Regions from separate parts of the Homo sapiens genome. Here all the other regions are linked to region 5. The links are contacts of gene promoters, found by promoter capture Hi-C in blood cells and fetal thymus (Javierre and others, 2016). All regions are on one chromosome and are shown on one strand. Each heading gives the region's core, a stretch centred on a gene start or on the middle of the fragment in contact. The rest is flanking DNA. Distances are from core to core; before and after follow the strand shown.

The links. Contacts are between HindIII fragments. The CHiCAGO score rates a contact against its expected background, and 5 or more counts as called.
Region 1: a contact is called between a fragment that was not itself captured here and the fragment with the promoter of PACC1 in region 5, in 4 of 17 cell types (fetal thymus, monocytes, total CD8 T cells and 1 more). The highest score is 8.1, in fetal thymus.
Region 2: a fragment that was not itself captured here is called in contact with the fragment with the promoter of PACC1 in region 5 in 1 of 17 cell types (naive B cells); the score reaches 5.2 in naive B cells.
Region 3: a fragment that was not itself captured here is called in contact with the fragment with the promoter of PACC1 in region 5 in 1 of 17 cell types (total B cells); the score reaches 5.9 in total B cells.
Region 4: a fragment that was not itself captured here is called in contact with the fragment with the promoter of PACC1 in region 5 in 1 of 17 cell types (fetal thymus); the score reaches 5.3 in fetal thymus.
Region 6: a contact is called between a fragment that was not itself captured here and the fragment with the promoter of PACC1 in region 5, in 1 of 17 cell types (fetal thymus). The highest score is 7.0, in fetal thymus.

Annotation. Positions count from the first base shown.
Region 1 is chr1:212,995,002-212,998,401 of GRCh38, reverse strand. ANGEL2 (angel homolog 2) reads left to right here. Exons shown (of 9, transcript NM_144567.5): 8 at 1,084-1,247; 9 at 3,210-3,400. The coding sequence ends at 3,361. Among named protein-coding and RNA genes, the nearest start is that of ANGEL2, 19 kb to the left of the region's middle. The HindIII fragment of the contact is 2,093 bases long and covers 972-3,064 here.
Region 2 is chr1:211,515,605-211,518,716 of GRCh38, reverse strand. No RefSeq gene overlaps it. Among named protein-coding and RNA genes, the nearest start is that of RD3, 25 kb to the right of the region's middle. RefSeq lists a silencer at 3,030-3,112. The HindIII fragment of the contact is 1,961 bases long and covers 727-2,687 here.
Region 3 is chr1:211,694,356-211,697,601 of GRCh38, reverse strand. No RefSeq gene overlaps it. Among named protein-coding and RNA genes, the nearest start is that of NEK2-DT, 20 kb to the right of the region's middle. RefSeq lists an enhancer at 1,844-2,343. The HindIII fragment of the contact is 3,743 bases long and covers 1-3,246 here.
Region 4 is chr1:211,738,575-211,741,705 of GRCh38, reverse strand. No RefSeq gene overlaps it. Among named protein-coding and RNA genes, the nearest start is that of NEK2-DT, 64 kb to the right of the region's middle. The HindIII fragment of the contact is 760 bases long and covers 1,386-2,145 here.
Region 5 is chr1:212,413,326-212,416,386 of GRCh38, reverse strand. It overlaps PACC1 (proton activated chloride channel 1), which reads left to right and starts at 1,501. Exons shown (of 8, transcript NM_018252.3): 1 at 1,501-1,665. The coding sequence starts at 1,630. RefSeq lists a silencer at 1,790-1,849. The HindIII fragment of the contact is 5,506 bases long and covers 1,216-3,061 here.
Region 6 is chr1:213,016,213-213,019,400 of GRCh38, reverse strand. No RefSeq gene overlaps it. Among named protein-coding and RNA genes, the nearest start is that of ANGEL2, 1.9 kb to the right of the region's middle. The HindIII fragment of the contact is 881 bases long and covers 1,207-2,087 here.

The DNA.
Region 1 (3,400 bases), core at 769-3,268, 580 kb before region 5:
TTGAGAGTTGATCTCACTGTCATCCAGGCTAGAGTGCAGTGGCATGATCTTGGCTCACTGCAGCCTCCACCTCCCAGGCTCAAGCCTTTCTCCTACCTTAGTCTGCCAAGTAGCTGAGACCACAGGCATGTGCCTCCACGCGTAGCTACTTTTCTAGATTTTTTTTTTTTTTTTGTAGAGATGAGGTCTCACTGTGTTGCCCAGGCTGGTCTCGAGCTCCTGAGCTCAAGCAATCTTCCCGCCTTGGCTTCCCAAAGTGCTGGGATTACAGGTGTGAGCCACCGCGTCCGGCCCTATTTTATGTTTAATATTATAAATCCTTAGACATAAAAAGTTGCTAATAAAACTTAGAGGGCATTTTTAAGGATTTACCTTTGTTCCTGACATATGAACACTTTAAAAGCAAGGGAAACATCTTCATCTATGTATTCTCAGCACCTGACATATTGCCTAGAACTTAGAAGATGTTTGGTAAATGTTTGTTGGATAAGTTTCTTTTTTAATTTTATTTTCCTTCAAGGCATAAAAGATCCTTAAGATTCATAAAGTATCACTAGAAAATAGTCTTTAAACCTTTTACTCATAACATCACATATATTTGTGCATGGGGCAAATATAATAAACCATTAGAGAAGCTGTTTTAAGATGCAGTACAAAATTATATGTGATAGCAAGAAAAATTAGAGAAGAATATGGCCTCTCTGTCATCAAAAGTCTAGAGGATTCCAAATAGTGTTCCTGAAGACCCCCTTGATTCTCTTTCTTAAAAACACAATAAAACTTGTTAGAATACATGTTCTTTAGTAAGTGGAGGCATTCACACGTTATAAATAATGAAAAAACACATTAGTATGTTAATTATTGAGCTTTTTTTAAAAACCACATTTATAATGGCTTTATTGATGGGTTTTAGATATCACTGCATAAGTAAATTAATACTAAATTATGATATGGTCTTTTTAAATAAAGCTTGTCCTAATGTTTGGTCTTAGTCTAGAAATTAAGTGAAAAAGAAATTCAGATAGGAGGAATTCTTGAAGTTACAAAAACTCGGATTCTAAACACTTCTTCTTTTCTATTTAGATTGTCTTCAAATTTACAGCACCATTTCAGTTTGTCATCTGTTTATTCACATTACTTTCCTGACACTGGAATTCCAGAAGTGACCACCTGTCATTCCCGAAGTGCCATAACTGTGGATTATATTTTCTACTCTGCAGAAAAGGAAGATGTTGCTGGGCACCCAGGTAAGGAATGCATGTAATCTTAAATTCTCCTAGAGAGCACAGTAGCTAAAACCTCAAGGTTAAAGTTAAGAAAGCTCTCTAAACATCCAGTTGAAGTTCTAGATCTAGAAGGTAAAAATATTTCGAAATAGACAGATTGGTAATATATTTGAATAAATCAGTTGATTACTTGCATATGAGGGAGGCAATAAAACACATCCAAGCAAATTATTACCCAAGAATTACATTAGCAGTCCTACCCTCCAGTTCCAGTCAGCCTCTGAGTTATAGGTCTTTCATATTGCCCTTTCTTTTTGCTTGCCATAAATTTACTGTTTTTCCTGTGACAGGAACTGAGTATGTTGTTAATGGTCATCATAGTTTTGTGCTTAAATTTTACCGAGGCGTCCTGCCTTCATTGGAGGACCATAGTTACACTGCCAGCAACACAGCTTATGCTGTCATGTTGACTCTGGAATATTGGATTTTTCTGAGGAGGAAAAGTATATATATATATATATATATATATATATATTTTTTTTTTTTTTTTTTGGATACAGAGTCTCGCTCTGTTACCCAGGCTAGAGTGCAGTGGCATGATTCTCGGCTTACTGCAACCTCTGTCTCCCGGGTTCAAGTGACCTTCCCACCTCAGCTTCCCGAGTAGCTAAGACTACAGGCATGAGCCACCATGCCCACCTAATTTTTGTATTTTTTGTAGAGACAGGGTTTCACCGTGTTGCCCAGGCTGGTCTCAAACTCCTGGGCTCAAGCCGTCCACCTCGGCCTCCCAGGGTGGCTTGGATTACAGGCATGAGCCACCACATTCGGTCAGAAAAGTCTATATAATTTTTTTGTTTGTTTGTTTTTGAGACGGAGTCTCGCTCGTCGCCCAGGCTGGAGTGCAGTGGCGCTATCTCAGCTCACTGCAAGCTCCGCCTCCCAGGTTCACACCATTCTCCTGCCTCAGCCTCCCGAGCCACTGGGACTACAGGCGCCCGCCACCATGCCCGGCTAATTTTTTGTATTTTTAGTAGAGACGGGATTTCACCGTGTTGGCCAGGATGGTCTCGATCTCCTGACCTCATGATCTGCCTGCCTCGGCCTCCCAAAGTGCTGGGATTACAGGCGTGAGCCACTGTGCCCGGCCGAAAATCAGGTTTTAAACATTAGCCAAAGGATTTAAAGTGGAGAAGAAAATGCAGTTTAAGATTACTGGAAGTACAAAAATACCTTTAAGAAAACTTTGGAATGTGAGCAGCTGTTTTATTCTTTTCTGATTTTTTTCATTTTTTTCTCTTCCATTTTTTTGGATGCTTCTTTTTCTTTACCCTTTTCCCCTCTGTTTGTTCCCCCCTCCTTTCTTCTGGGAATAACCTTATTAGTAACACTCACGAGATGACTTATTCCTGCCACTAGATCTACTCTACAAAAAATATGCCTGCTGCTTTGAATTTATAGTAAGGTTTTCGTAGTTGTCATGCTGACAGAAGTTCACTTGGTGGCAGGAGAGTGTTATGGATCAGCATTTCAAAAAGAGCATGTCATCTTCACTTCTGTGGGTGCTGACTATCTGGGACTAAATTATACTAATTTATTCTCCATTCACCTTATAAACTGCTACAGGGCTGTGGCCCGGTGTCTCTGGCTTTATGCAACTACAGAATGGTTGCTGGATGAGTTTCTTATGTAGTTGTCAACCACAAATTACCCTTAACATTCTTAAGTATTTCATTTATATTTTCTTCTAAAGATTGTTTACAGAGCTGGAAATAGAAAAAATATCTCAAACTGCTGTGTGTTTGATAATTATAATTAGGTTATAATTCAATAAAGCTTAGATATTCTAAAAACTGTGTCATAGTTTTTAGTCTTCTGGAGGGGCCTCAAGTTCTATATTTGTTTGGAGAAAAGACTTGTATGATTAATTTACAATAACCCGTTGACAATTTTACTAAATATGTGTGTGCTTCTTTAATGTAGGAGCTGAAGTTGCTTTGGTTGGTGGCTTGAAACTTCTAGCTAGACTGTCACTTCTTACAGAACAAGACTTATGGACTGTTAATGGACTTCCAAACGAAAATAACTCTTCAGATCATCTGCCTTTATTGGCAAAGTTCAGACTTGAGCTCTGACTCTCTTTGATCACATACTAATTTTCTTTCCAATTTGTA
Region 2 (3,112 bases), core at 458-2,957, 900 kb after region 5:
GTGGCCAGGCCTGGCCCAGGGGCTTCCTTCTGGCAATGGGCCCTGTGGGAATCTTACTGACTACAAGTGGAAGGTTAAGAATTGGAAAGCTTTTGCCAGAATAAGGGGAAGGGATAATAGGCAGGCAAAACAAAAGGTGAGTATCATACACTGAGCACTTGGCTCTGCACACAGTAGGTGCTCACCCTAACAGGGCTGACTGGCTGGCCTCTGGCTGGAACCATCTGGGGAGAGAGGAAGTGGTGGTTTCACATCAGCTGCAGAGCCTCCACCAGGTTCAATTTTACATCTAGAGAGAGGGATTTGGAGTCCACGCAGGTCCCAGAAGGTGACAAGGTGGTAGAGAGTGATACGTGCCTCGTTGCATGGAAAACTGCCCTTGGGCTCCAAACATGGTATGCCCAGAGGCTGAGCTTGGAAATGGGTGAACCTTGGCCCAGCCTGGCTAAGAGAGCCACTCGGGGGCACATGCGTACCCTTGCCCTGCTCTCTGCGGGCTGGCCTATGGCCAGCAGGTGCCCAGTGAGAAGATTGTACTCCAAGGGATCCAGCCTTTTACACAAGTTATAAGATGAGGAAGAAACATGGCTTGTGTCTTTGGGAAGTTCTCAGCCCAGTGGGAGAACTGTAACATGACAAGACTAACCCTGTATTTGGGGGCTTCCGCCTGATGTGTCAGCCCCAGAGGGACGGCATGGTAACCCACTCTGTACCAGATTTTAAGCTTTATTCCCAAACCTGCTTTGCTTCCCTTACCAGCTCTTTTACCTTTGTCTTCCATGTTCCCAGTTCATGTTGACCACCTGGGCTGGTTCACTACCACCACACCTGGGAGTGAGAGAAGCCCACCTTCTCCCACTGGCTCAGCCACTCAATTGCCTGGAAGGCATTGTCAGGCAAGGGTGGCCTGCATCTCTACCTCAGCAAAAGCCTCCAGGAAGCCAAAATTAAAAGCGAGGCCAGACCAGGCAACAGTGGCTCACGCCTGTAATCCCAACACTTTGGGAGGCCGAGGCCGGAGGATTACTTGAGCTCAGGAGTTTGAGACCAGCCTAGGCAACATAGTGATCTGGAGTCCATCCAGGTCCCAGAAGGTGATGAGGTGGTGGAGAGTGATACTTGGAACCCATCTCAGTAAAAATCGTAATAATTTTTAAAAGAGAGAAAGAAGAGTGAGGCTGGTTCCTGCTGTACCCTGGAAGTGGTTTTTTCCAGGCGCCTCTTTTTCCAAATTATCAGTTTGAGGCTGAGAGGGCAGGTAAGGGAGAAAGTGACAGTGAGCTAGGCATGGGGAAGTGGCAGCAGGTTGAAGCAGGATCCTGAGAAGACAGCACGGAGGGGCCCTGAGCTGGCTGGGCAGGTGTGGGGCTAGGAAGCCACACCCAGCTCAGTAATTCCCAGGGAGCTTCTGGGAGAACCTGGGCTCAACAGGGAGATCACAGGGCCTGCTGAGGCCATATGGGTGAGGCCTCGCCCTTCTTCCTGCTTCCTCCACCATGCAGTTCCTGCCTCTCCTCCCCCTTCACCTTGCATCCCTCCTCCTCTGCAGCAGCCCTCCTGCTCACACAGTTTAAGAAAGGCTGGTGCTAAGCCTGTGTGCACCACAGGTGGCGTCATGGGCAGGGTCTTTCATGATTTTTCTGCTGCCACTGAGAAGACGGATCATCATCTTTCAGGCAAGTTTGTAATAAACATTTAACGAATGAATGGGTTAGTGATGAACATTCGTTATCTAATTTGAACCCTTTACCAACCCTTTGAGGTAGTCCACACAGTTCCTATTAGTGCTGTTTACAGCTGGGGAAACTGAGACTCAGAGAAATTATGTGTCATCACGTAGGTATGCAGTGACCAGCTGGACTCAGAACCCATGACCCTAGTTCTTGCACTAATGTCCACTGCCTGTCTCTTTCACCCACCTGCACCCTCACAGCTACTCCTTGGGGTTCAGAGGGGGATGACTGGGGCGGGAATAGCAAGGACACAGGCATCATGGGGGCAGATTTGACCACACTGGCTCTGGGCTGTCAAGACAGCCAATCTGGGCTGCTGTCTCTGGCTGCTGTTATGGCTTCATTCCCGGGGCCACTCCACTTAATACAGGGACAGTACTTCAGGTCCGTCTGCCCAGTGCAGTCACATCAGGAGCACCACGGCAGCCGAAGTGAAACCTGGCCAGTCATAGGCAATAACCTTTGACCTGCTGGCAGGTGGGTGTTAGGTTAAATGTTAAGTGACCGGCCGGTCACGGTGGCTCATGCCTGTAATCCCAGCATTTTGGGAGGCTGAGGAGGGCGGATCACCTGAGGTCGGGAGTTCAAGACCAGCCTGACCAACATGGAGAAACCCCATCTATACAAAAAATACGAAATTAGCCAGGCGTGGTGGTGCATGCCTGTAATCCCAGCCACTGGGGAGGCTGAGGCAGGAGAATCGCTGGAACCCGGGAGGCGGAGGCTGCGGTGAGCCGAGATAGCGCCGTTGCACTCCAGCCTGGGCAACAAGAGCGAAACTCCGTCTTTAAAAAAAATTGTTAAGTGACCTCAACTATGTGGCCATGGGGAATTAGAGAGAGTAGAATAGAATCCCCTGTGGGTTGCAAGTGGGAGATGCTGGGATTTTTGAGCATCTTTACTGGTGATCCCTACGGCTGAATTAGGAGAGCTCTCCTGGCACCCGGGAAAGCTTTAACCTCTGGAGTGGCCTTCACAGGAGACAGCCTCAGGATGCTGGGAGAGCCCCTGACCCTCCACAACCTACTACCAATTCCTGCGCGCCGTTCCTTGGGCATGAGGTCCTGAACCTGGTGGAGGAAGGGTAGCAATGCCTTCCATTGTATTGGTTACATGCTTCTTACAGTCAATTAATTGGTTCGATCTTTTCCAGACAGTGCCGGGCTAGAGGCTGACCTTCCCCACTCCCGACCTTGGCTTCTTGAATAACCTCACAGGCCACGGGGCATGCGGGGTGCGCGTGCGTGGCTGGGCCGGCGTAGTCAGCCGGGCGGGAAGGTTTACGGCTTTGGGGAGGCGCCGCCTTGCCGCCCTGACACCGCCCCGCCAGGCCAGCCCGCCGCTCGGTGGCCCCGCCGGCTTCCCGCGGTCGGGACGGG
Region 3 (3,246 bases), core at 507-3,006, 720 kb after region 5:
CAAGCATAGGAGCCCCCAGGGACTGTGCTGAAGAGCAGATTCTGATGAGCAGGGCCGGGTGGGGCCTGAGAGTCTGCATGTCTAATAAGCTCCCAGGGGACACCTTGTTGCTCTCCAAGGACCACATGTGAGGGTCTACACCACTTACTGACAATACTGCTCTAGCTATGACCAGCTGGAAAGGCTTCTGAAGAGGAGCTTCATAGCTAAGCTGACCAACCCTCTTGGTTTTCTTGGGGCTGAGAGGTTTGCCCAGACTTGAAACCTGGGATGGTCCCAGGGAGACCAGAATTCTTGGTTACCCTGTGCACAGCTGTGGCCCAATACAATTAGTTTAGGTAAAGCCTTGACATAGACGCCTGAGAAAGGCTCAAGAATGCTTACAAAGAAACAAACAAGGCATTGTAAATCAATCTAGTGTAGAAAAAATACTCTTAAAGCACCGAGGGAAGGTAGATTAAATTCAAGGTCATCATGAAACTGAGCTTCTTGAGAGCTGAGTTCTGAGTGGGATGGGATAGAAAAGGGATTAGGGAATGATCTAGGTTGGGATGAAGGAAAGGGCTCCCATTGCTATACATGCCCGCTTTGGTTAGCGCTGATTTCATGAAAAGCCAGGTTCATCTGAGTTGTCAGAACCTACAAATCATATTCAAGTGTGTGCTGTCATATTTGTATTAAATTCCTGTATCTATATATTTTAGGTCACTTTCTCTCCCCAAAAGCCATGGCAGTTAACCTGGCCCTAAACCTAAGTTGCCCTGGCCTCCCTGCCCAGGTGCCTTCTAGAGAATGTCACATAATGCAGTGGTTTAATGGACTTCCCTGGTGACCACAGCCCTGGTCTGGATGTGGTCCTGTCTGCCCTGCCATGTGCCATGTGACCTAGGTAGAAAGGGAGTCAGTGTCTACCTGTCTGTGCCTGTCCTCCTGCCCTTACAGGGATGGCTGAGGCATGAGGGCTCTGACAGCCCTGGAGACACACAGAACCTCACCAATATGGAAGAGTCTGGGAAAACCTTGGGGCCACCCTGAGAAGGCACTTCACAACAAAGACTGCACACAGTACTTTTTGGAGGGCAGCCATATTCTGGCCTATGGGTTTGGTTCCTAGAACTCGAAGTATGTGGGTTTCCTGAGTGTGTAAAATCCTGAGAGATGGTAATAAACCACACCCTTTGGGATGAGGTACAGAGAGCCTTCATATTTATAAAATATATGAGGCCAGGCATGGTGGCTCACACCTGTAATCCCAGCACTCTGAGAGGCCAAGGTAGAAGCATTGCTTGAGCTCACGAGTTTGAGTCCAGCCTGGGCAACATAACGAGAGCCTGCCTCTACAAAAATAAAATAAAATAAAAAGTTAGCTGGGCATGGTGGTGTGTGCCTGTGATCACAATTATTCAGGAGGCTGAAGTGGGAGGATTGCTTGAGTATAGGAGTTTGAGGCTGCAGTGAACTATGATTGCACCATTGCACTCCAGCCTGGGCAACAGAGTGAGACCGTGTCTCAATTAAAAAAAAAATATATATATATATATATATATGTATGCATGTATATGTGTGTGTATATATATATATATACATATGTATGTATGTATGTATGTGTGTGTGTGTATATGTATATATGTATATATACCGCTTTATTTCTTTAGCAGTGGTTAAGATTTGAACTTTGGAATCAGGCAGAACTGTAGGTCCAGCTCTGGCATTTTCTCACCCTCTAGAGCCTGGGTTTCCTCATCTGTAAAATAGAGATGGTAACAGTGCCTCCTCTTCGGGGCCTCTGGGCCTTGGCCGTCACACAATGCTCCTCCAAGAGCAGCTATGTTATCACTACTCTTATCTCACAGACAGCTGGAGGAGGGTCACGGGGGCAGCGGGCGCTCTGCAGGAGGCCTCCTTTAAGGGCAGTTGTCATTAGCACGCTGTTAGCAATGGGAAGCTCCAAGATGCTGCCAAACCACTTGAAAAGATGTGTTAGAAATCCCCATTTGGTAAAGAACAAAATTCTCAGTTCACAGAGCTTAGTCAATGCTTTTGTTGTCATTGTTGTTAATAAATGCTTTATTTTTGAAGAGTTTTAGATTTATAGAAAAGCTATAAAGATAGTACAGAGTTCCCATTTCTCACAGGGGTCCTGCACTGGCTCCCTGCTGGGGCGGGCTTGCAGTAGTCCAGTGGTTCAGTTTTGGTCTGGCTTCCTTTTTTCTGTGGTGACTGTCTAGCCCACAAGCTGAGTTATGGAGATGCTGCAGCTTTTCTGTTTGTAAAAATGACCTTGATCCCCGCCTACACTCGTTTCCTCTGTGTGCACAAACACACATGTGCACAGGCCCACCCACAGCATGCGGTCATGCAGTGTGAGGAGCACACCCACTGAGCTAGGCTCAGGTGACCCCTGACTGCTACCCCTTGCAGACCCAAGGTCGATCAGAGCCCCTGCAGAGGAAGCACTGTTACCATCTCGTGGCTTCTGGATGGTCCAGAGGGGGCTTTCTTGGAGATAAGTGAGCCAGACCTCCAAGAATCTGTAGGGTGGGTGGGCACATTTGGGTGTTCTCTTTTGCAGATGAGAAGTATTCATGGTGGCCTGAGGCTTGAGGCTTAAACACTATGAGCCTCAGTTTCCTTTTTTGGAAAATGGGAATAAACCAATGCTTCAGTCCTGGGAATGTGGTGAAGAGTGAAGGAGAAGCATGAGTAGCACCGGGCCTGGCACGGATGAGTGCGGTGCTTTTATCATTCCAGCTGTGTGGACCACACCAGCCACACCAGGTGGACATGTGGCCTCAGCTCACCAGATTCTCCTGCCCTCTGCCTCTGCCCAGGGTGGAGGGGAGTGAAGGCAGTGCCACAGCCCGGTACAGACCTGAATCATTGTATGCTTGACAGGCTCCAAGGCCTCCTTAAGTTAGGTCTTCACTCTGTGTACCATGACATTCCTCCAGAAAAACAAAAGTGCAAAGAACATCTTCTAATTTAAAACATGTTTTATGGTCGGGCTTGGCGGCTTATGCTGTAGCAGGATGAGCCGCAGACAAAAGTCCTCAAACTCTGAATTAAAGAAGGAAGGGGTTTATTCGGCCGGGGGCATTGGCAAGACTCCTGTCTCAAGAGCCGAGCTCCCCGAGTGAGCAATTTCTGTCCCTTTTAAGGGCTCACAACTCTAAGGGGGTGCACATGAGAGGGGCATGATTGATTGAGCAAGTGGGGGGTACGTGTCTGGGGGCTGCATGCACCGGT
Region 4 (3,131 bases), core at 516-3,015, 670 kb after region 5:
GGAACAAGTATATTTGTTAAAAGGGCGATGGATCTAGAAGCTAAAGCTTCCATAACATCCTTATCCTCAATTTTAATAATCCCAAAACCCCAAAAGATAATTTTTATTAATGTTCCTCTCAGCTGCTGCAGAGATACAATTAACCATGAAAAAAGCCCTGAAATTAATTATTTTTTTTTTTTGGATGTGGAAGTGAAGTGCATTTTAAAAATTTTGCCCTATATAGTAGAAGATAAAAAGAACATTTTTATGTTAGACCAAAGGGGATACAGATTTCAATCTCATAATAGTTTCTTTCTTTTCTGAATTCTAGTGTGGAACTAGAGTAGGTAATAAATTCTAGGCCACGATGGCCACTAGTGCCCGAATATCCCTCTGTCATGGCGCCATCAAGTGTTAAGGGCTTGTCCAAGTAGGAGCCCAGGAGCAGCAGAACCGGGGACTTCAATTCGACCTTGGCCCTTTGGCAAGTTTCTTATCCTCTCAACCTCACTCTCCTTATGTGTTAAATGGGAAACGCTCAAAGACTTCTTTTTTTTTTTTTTTCTGAGACGGAGTCTCACTCTGCAGCCCAGAGTGCAGCCGCGTGATCTCGGCTCACTGCAACCTCTGCCTCCCGGGTCCCGGTTCAGTGATTCTCCTGCCTCAGCCTCCTGAGTAGCTGGGACTTCAGGTGTGCACCACCACACCTGGCTAATTTTTGTATTTTTATTAGAGACGGGGTTTCACCATGTTGGCCAGGCTGGTCTTGAACTCCTGACCTCATGATCCGCCCACCTTGGCCTCACAAAGTGCTAGGATTACAGGCGTGAGCCACCATGCCTGGCCAAGACTTCTTTTCAGTATTAAGTGAGATTATATACAGGAAGCACATAAGACACTGGCACATTGTACTGAATGTGCAGTAAGGAGGCTGTGTTTATCTCACCCCAACTGGGTTTAACAGAGGATGTAAGTTATTCTCATATTGAGATGTGCCTAAACTGCAAGTGATGTGTTCCATGCATACCCAATGCAGTGGCTCATGCCTATAACCCCAGCACTTTGGGAGGCCAAGGCAGGAGGATCACTTGAGCCCAGGAGTTTGACACCAGGCTGACAGGAGATCAGCCTGGCCAACATGGTGAAACCCCGTGTCTACTTAAAAAAAAAAAAAAATTAGCCAGGCATGGTGGTGTGTACCTGTGGTCCCAGCTACTCGAGAAGCTGAAGTAGGAGGATCACTGGAGCCTGAGAGAATTGAGGCTGCAATGAGCTGTTATCATGCCCTAGGTCTCTTGGTTTTTAAGTTAGACACATGCAATCAGCATAGCCAAGTCCCTAACCCCACACAGTCAGACTATATTTAATATATCTAAGGCTCCAGACAGCAGTGAGAAAAAGCTTTGAGGTTGGAGCGCCAATTAGGAAGGTGAGGAGACGGGGGCATAAAGAGGAAATCAGATCTACTAGACAAGACATTACATAGGCTTAATAGGGACCTATTTTTGCTTCTGAGACATGATGTCACTTGTGGTGAAGACCTTGAACTAATTATCAAAATGGAGGGAAATATAATTTCTAGTATTTGGAAGCTGTCCACCAGCCCACGGTTCTCTGTATAATTCATATGATTCTAAATATAAAACTACATTGAAAGTGTCCTAATGCTTCAGGAAATTGAAAGTAATTTTGAAAACCTTTCTCCTTTCTAGTTGCAGAAGTCTCAGAAGTTTATATCTTGAGAATTGACACTTTACCTTCCAGTGGTAAGTTCTGGGTGCTCAGTTCTTAGTGGGTATCAGAAGGAAGTGGGCAGATTAGAATAAGATATTGCTTATGGCTATTGAGGTTATCATGGTAGAGCACAAAGAAACGAGGCAAAGCTGGATTAGCAGGTGTGTATTCGAAACTCTGCCCTGCTGGGGGTGGGGGTGAGGAGATGAGAAGCAGGTGATGTTTCAAAGCCCCATCTGGCCCTAAGAGCCTTTGATTCCCCAGACAAATATCCAACAAGCTGTCCAGCCCACCATTCACGGAACTTCAGAGTAACACCAGAAATTGGGAATTCCAAGAGAGAGAGGCTTCAGGGCCATGATGAGGTTATGGAACAGTTCTCTTAGAGAAGATTTGGAAATACTTCAAACCATCATCTGGTGGGAAGCTTGGCATAAACAGCAACTCATGGATATGGAGATGGCTGCTCAGGCATTACGATATTCAGAGTGGTTCTGGGCTAGCTTATTATAAAGAAGACCCGTCCTTGTTTTCCCAAAGGATGGCTAGAAAAAGCAAGGGAATGAATGAGTTAATGAATGTGGAATTAATAAAGCATTTCTTCTTGGAGGCAGAGAAATGGAACAGCTGATTACTGAAAGCCAGCCTTCAGAATCTGTGCCATGTCCGATCAGGAATAATAATTGAAATTGTCATTGGAGCGATGTCTGAGGGATGCAGAAACCTGGTGTCACAGGAAGCATTGCCTCAGACTCTGTCTTCCTCTTTATTAGGCCTTGGAGAGGAAGGACAGCAGGGTTACCTCACCAGCCCAGCTCCAGCTCCCCTTCACCCCCCGCCCAGGTACCTGTCTGACTGCAGCAGGAGATTCTAGCACAGAGGGTGCCAGCAAGCAGGGGTGCTCAGAGGGTTTCTCATTTGAAAGGTATTTACTGTTAGGGGAGAGTGGGAGGAGAGGAGGGGCAGGCATGGGTGGGCAGAGCATAGGTACTAGGAATCTGCAAACCACAGACAAGAAGCAAGTGAAAGTAAAGATCTGAGGGTTTGCTGTAAGCTGCATTAGCAGGAGGAGCACTGGGCCTGTGGGAGTGGACACATGTGTCTCCTTCCAGGGGCTCCTGCCACAGCCTCAGCCTCAGACATCTCAAGGCTCAGTGTGTGTGTCTGTCTGCCAGTGTACCCCAGGGGGGCCTCATGGTGAGGCTTCCTCTGCCTGGGTTGCTCCTGGCATGGGCTCCAGCTTTTCCCCTCAACCCTGCAGCCCACTGGAAGACATAAGCTAAAGCTGGTGGGGACCTCCACTCTGGGTACCGTCCCTGCCCATCCCCTCTGGCAGTCGCTTTCCTAACTGACAGGTATTGGTGAAGTGCTCAGGATGTTCTTGGTGGGCGTATTTCCTCCAGGTGGGGGTGGCG
Region 5 (3,061 bases), core at 252-2,751:
GCCAGGACCCAAGGGTATCTTATCCATTTCTGTATCCCAGTGCCCAGCACATTGTATTTGTTAAGCCATATTTTATATTTTATTAGCCAGTATCTCCTTCAAATGTGGGAGCCCATAATTTTCCAGTTTGGTCACACCAACAAAGACTAGAGAGGAATGACAGGGTTGGAATAGAATTCTCTGGTTCCTTCCAGCTCTAATATTCTATGATGGTGTGAACTTGTTCTATCAAGTACCATTGTATTAACACAGTAAGGAATTTAATTAGTGGTCTGCTATTGTTAATTTGTTTTGGTAAGCAACTGTTAAATGAAATGGCTGGAATCAGTGTTCCATTCATAAATTTAACAAACATTTGTCGAGTGCCTACAATGTGTTAGGCACTATATATATTGTCCCATATAACAGATTTAAGAGCAGAGGGCCTAGGATAGGGGTGAGTGGTCAGGAGAGGTGATGGGGACCTCCCATTGCTAATGCTCCAGGAGGTCCAGGGTTCTTTGATGTGGCTGGCACTATTCTGCTTATCACTGAGGAGAGAAGAGGCTCCCAGTGGCCTGAGTGGAGGGGTTACCAAGCTGCAGCTGCAAGGGACACAGAGCAGCATTCACCAAGGCACAACAAGCAGCCTCTATCTGCTTCACCACTGAGGAGCCGAGGGCCCTCACACAACAGCTGTTTCAGGCAGTGGGAGGAGAGGAAGATGTGGTCTTCAGGTCCACCCTGCCACAGGGCCAACACCAGATTTGACGCCACATCTAGCGCTTGAGGCTTCTTCTGTGGCTGAACAGCGGCTTTAGGCTTTCTCTGCACGATCCTTCCTTTCTGCTTTCATAGGCCTTGTCAGGCAGGGCAGGGTTTAGCAGTTGCATTCTAAGGCGAGGAGAGGAGGGCTCAGAGCATTGCAAGACCTAAAGGGGAGGGTCAGAGCCAGGACAAGAACCTAGGGGTACTCCTGCCCCTGGAATAATGGAGAGAACATGGGCTCCGCAGTCTACCCCTGGATGAAATAATCTTCATTTGATTACCGCTCCACCCGCATCCTTTCTGAAACAAAGTACCTCAGTTTCCTCATTTGTAAATTAGGGAGAAAAATGTCCTTCTTACAGGGTTCCTTGCAGAATCAACGGCATAATGTGAGTGAGAGCGCTTTGTAACTAACATACAAAGTGCTCTCCAGACATTTATTACCGTTTTAAACCGCCAGGCCAAGCTTCCTCTTGCAATTATAGATTAGGGGCTCCTACTCATCTGACTTTGTTCCACTTTCCACTCCTCTTCTCCGTCCCTCCCCCTCCAACAAAGAGAGGAAGTGAGAGACGCAGAGGCACGCGTCTAAGGACCAGCTTAGCTGGCCCAGGGTCACATGCAGGCCTCCGCCACAGGGGTGAGAGCTGGTGTGAGGGGCGCCCCCGCCCAGAACTACATTTCCCATCAACACTTTCGCGACTCCTGGGCGGCAGCGGCCAGGCGCATGCGCCGAGTATCGCCACGCCTGGTCTCTGGGACGCCCCTCCGGACCGGTTTCGCCTCGCGGAGCCGGTAGGTCCAGGTGCAGCGGCCGCAGTGCTGCGTCCGTGCGCCGCGGGCTGGGGCGGTCTCAGGTGTGCCGAAGCTCTGGTCAGTGCCATGATCCGGCAGGAGCGCTCCACATCCTACCAGGAGGTACGAGGTTGTGAGAGACGGAAGGGAAGTTTGAGGCGGAGGAGCAGGGTCCCGGGGGCCTGGGCGGATGCGGGGCGGGGGGTGTCGGGGCTGCGCGGCAGAGGGCTCTTCCGAGGGACCGACGGGTGCGTCAGGGGAGGGCTCCCGGGGTGCAGAGGAGCGGCCCAGGGGCAGGAAGGAAGCGGGGCAGCGGAGCGGGCGCCCAGCGTTCTCCGTATGCTGCGGGTTGCATGGCCGAGGTCCGGAGTAGGGTCCCCGGCGCCGCGACCCGTAACCAGCAGGTGAATGATTGAAGCTACCTGAGGCCCAGCCTTCCGCGCTCCCCGCCGGAGCGGCAGCCCAATGGCCCAGAGGAACCCGGCGTTCTTTGCAACAAGTGGAGCGCCCGCGCCCTCCTCCCGGCGAGATCTGATGCGCGGTCGGCATCGTCGGCATCCTCCCCCTCCAAGCCCAAGGCCTCGCTGTCCCCGCGGCTGGTGACAGGATTGATTACCTGTTTTTTGGTGACCACCTAACTTTGAAAAAGTGCCTTCATGGACTCTGCTAGTTCTCGCTCCTCTTCGTCTCTCCCTCCAGTCTCACCTCCTCCCACGACTTTATCACTTTCCAGTTCTTTGTCTCTTCTCTGTCCTGCGCTGCAGGCTGTGCGTCCAGCGCTTCCTTCAAGCAAGCCCTGCCTCCTCACTTCTCCAGCTGTATTAGTGAAACTGCTCTCCTCCTCCGCCTCCACTTCTCGGCCCCCAAACCTTGGTCATCTTTGGCAACCGTCCTCTTCTGTGCCCCTCCATCGTGCCGCCTCATTGGCCAAAGTCAGGCAGTTCCAGGTCGGTCCTCCTCCAGTTTGTGTCCCTGTGTTTGCTGTAACCTCTGAGTGCGATACTGTGTTACCATCGCTCCCTTTAGTCTCTTATACTCTCCAGATTTGCCTTGAGGCCCTGCCTTCACCTCGGAGCATTCCTTTTTTCTCAGACCTGACGCTGCCCTTCGTCTGCCCAGAACAGTCCAGACTTCTCAGCAGGCTCCCAAAGCTCTGAACAGCACAGCAGCCATGTCTCCCATTACCTTTGCCACCTCCTAACCCACCTAGGGTCTGGCACAGTGGAAACTCAGTTTTAAAATGTGCTCCTGCCTCTGTGCGTGTGCTCACTCCATTCCTTCATCAACGCTCCGCCAAGCTCCATTGGGTAAAATGCCCCCAGAAGTCAAGGGCTACCTCAAGTTCCATGTGTTCCATAGGGGTCCGCTTTCCAGACCCGTCTGCATTTCTGTCTGTCCTTCTCATAATGAACTTGCTGCCTTCTGTCTTAGTCAATAGTTACTGCTGTACATATCTCCCTTTGTAAAAGACTGATTCACAGAAGGGCTTTGTGGACTATATAAAGCAGGTGGCTTAGCC
Region 6 (3,188 bases), core at 398-2,897, 600 kb before region 5:
CCATGAAGTGTACTTTTACAGTGATAAAATTCACCTGCCTCTGTCAGATGAATACATTGGGCATCTTGGTGGGAACTACTGAACTTTTAAAAGATAATTTTCCAAAAAAAAAAAAAAAGGTAAAATCATGACTCTCAAACAGATATAATACGAACACATTAGTCATTTTATTTTATTTATTTTGAAACGGAGTCTCACTCTGTCACCCAAGGTGGAGTGCAGTGGTGCGATCTTGACTCACTGCAACTTCCGCCTTCTGGATTTAAGCGATTCTCATGCCTCAGTCTCCCAAGTAGCTGGGATTACAGGCATGAGCCACCACACCCAGCTAATTTTTGTCTATTTTTAGTAGAGACGGGGTTTCACCATGTTGGCCAGGCTAGTCTTGAACTCCTAACCTCAAGTGATCCGCCTGCCTTGGCCTTCCAAAGTGCTGGGATTACAGGCGTGAGCCCCTGCACCCAGCCATTTTATTTAACTCATTACATAGGTGAACCAGACAGATGTTATCACCTGTTCAAAGGAGAATCCAAAGAGCAGACATGTTTATAGATCAGAAATATTGATCTTGCAAATGGTGCAAAACTGGCTTTTTTGTTGTTGTTGTTGTTTAATTTATTATTATTATTATTATTATTATTATTATTATTTGCGATGGAGTCTCGCTGTGTCGCCCAGGCTGGAGTGCAGTGGCGCGATCTCGGCTCACTACAACCTCCATCTCCCAGGTTCAAGCGATTCTCCTGCCTCAGCCTCCTGAGTAGCTGAGATTACAGGCATGCCACCACACCTGCTAATTTTTGTATTTTTAGTAGAGAACGGATTTCACCATGTTGGTCAGGCTGGTCTCGAACTTCTGACCTCGTGATCCTCCCGCCTCAGCCTTTCAAAGTGCTAGGATTACAGGTGTGAGCCACTGCAGGCAGCCAAAACTGGCTTTTCCATAGAGATGGAGAGTTCTCCCCCCAACTAGGTAGAATTATTTTACAAGTCCATAGACAAAAATCATTTGCACTGCCACAAGCGCCCTGCAAGTTAACTTTAATCTTTGCAATAGTCTAGGCCCAGATAAAGGCAAATATCTTTTAGGATCAGATAAACCCCCAAATTCCAACACTGCATGAAAAGATATCTATTAATTTCTTTTACTTATTTAAAAATGTTACATTTCTCCTTACCTCTTAGGGTGTGCTAAAGGAAAAAGCTTCTGGTCATTCACAAGTCCCAAGTTCTGGCCCACTGTTAACCATTCATTCAAAAATATTTTTACTACTATATATTGTGTACTTAGCACAGCACTAGGTCAAGTAAATTTTGGAAATAATGAGTCATGGTCTTTCCTCAGAAGTTATTTACAATCTCATTATAAAGACAAGACATACAGTAAACTACTAGTCAATTTAATGAACTACAAAATTGTGAGTACAACTAGAAAATAGGGCAGTATAAAACAGAAATACAGTCTTTCTCCATTATTTGTGGATTCCATATTTGCAAATTTGCCTACTTGCTAAAATTGATCTGTAACCTCCATGTATTCTTGGACATGTACAGAGCAGGGAAAATTTTTAATTGCCCAAAGTGCACATTCCCAGCTGAGGCTAAACAAGGCATTCTCTGCCTTTTTGTTTCAGCTCTCATGCTATACCATAGTGTCCCCTTGTTGCCAGGGCTGGAGTACAGTGACACTATCTTGGTTCACTGCAGCCTCGCCCTCTCGGGCTAAAGTAATCCTTTCACCTCAAATTCTGGAGTAGCTGGGACTACAGACGAGAGCCACCATGCCCGGCTAATTTTTGTATTTTTTGTAGGGACGGGGTTTCGCCATGTTGTCCAGTGTGGTCTTGAACTCCCTGGCTGAAGCGATCCAGCCGCCTTGGCCTCCCATATTGCTGGGATTACAGGCGTGAGCCATCAGGACCAAGTGTCCTTTTCACATTCCATTTAGTGATATGTTTTTCACGTTTTTGTACTTTTTGTTGATGTTGCTGTTTAAAATGGTCCCCAAGCGTTGTGCTGTATAGTGCTCCTAAGCACAAGAAGGCTGTCATGAGCCTTGCAGAGAAAATAGCAGTGTTAGATAAGCTTTGTTGAGGTATGAATTATAGTGCTGTTGACTGAGTTCAATGTTAATGAATCAACAATATATATTAAATAAGATGTCTTTAAGCGGAAACACACATACAACAAAACTATGTATTGATTAAGTTGATGAAAATGCGACCAGAGGCTTACAGGATCCTAATCCTGTATTTCCCTTAGGAGTAATGATTCAGTATTTACTAATTCAGTGTTTCCAGCAACTTTACAGAACCTAACTACTGCAAATAACAAGAATCAATTACATACTGAGGGAAAGGTTTTTTTCAAATACACTTTACTTCCTTTTATGCACCAGGGATAAGAAAAGCCTTCCCAAGAAATTACCACTGTTTCAAAGAGCCTATAAAAGCAGTGCTCCTGCCTTCTAGTATCCTTTTCCCCTCTACTCTCCACACTTTATTCTTTCTCGGTTTCTCTCTTCCTGTTTCTTGCAGGGTCTCCACTTAAATAATGTCTTTCAACAATCTACAGTCCTATAATACATTTAATAAAGGTGGACACACAAGACATACAAGTACTTTTTTTTTTTTTTTTTTTTTTTTTGAGACGGAGTCTCGCTCTGTCGCCCAGGCTGGAGTGCAGTGGCTCGATCTCTGCTCACTGCAAGCTCTGCCTCCCAGGTTCACGCCATTCTCCTGCCTCAGGCTCCCGAGTAGCTGGGACCACAGGCGCCCGCCACCACGCCCGGCTAATTCTTTGTATGTTTAGTAGAGACGGGGTTTCACCGTGTTAGCCAGGATGGTCTCGATCTCCTGACCTCGTGATCCGCCCGCCTTGGCCTCCCAGAGTGCTGGGATTACAGGCGTGAGCCACCGCGCCCGGCCCATACACGTACATTTTAAAGTGAGAGCTATGGCTGTGCTTCCGCAACATTAATTGCAAAATTCTGTGGTACCTCAGTTCCATGGGCACCCAGAGGATGCGTTGTTCAGCCTCAGCTGGGAATCTGCACTTTGGGCAATTAAAAATTTTCACTGCTCTGTTTATTTCTGCCGGGCGCGGTAGCTCACTCCTGTAATCCCAGCACTTTGGGAGGCCGAGGCGGGCGAATCACTTGAGGTCAGGAGTTCGAAACCAGCCTGGCC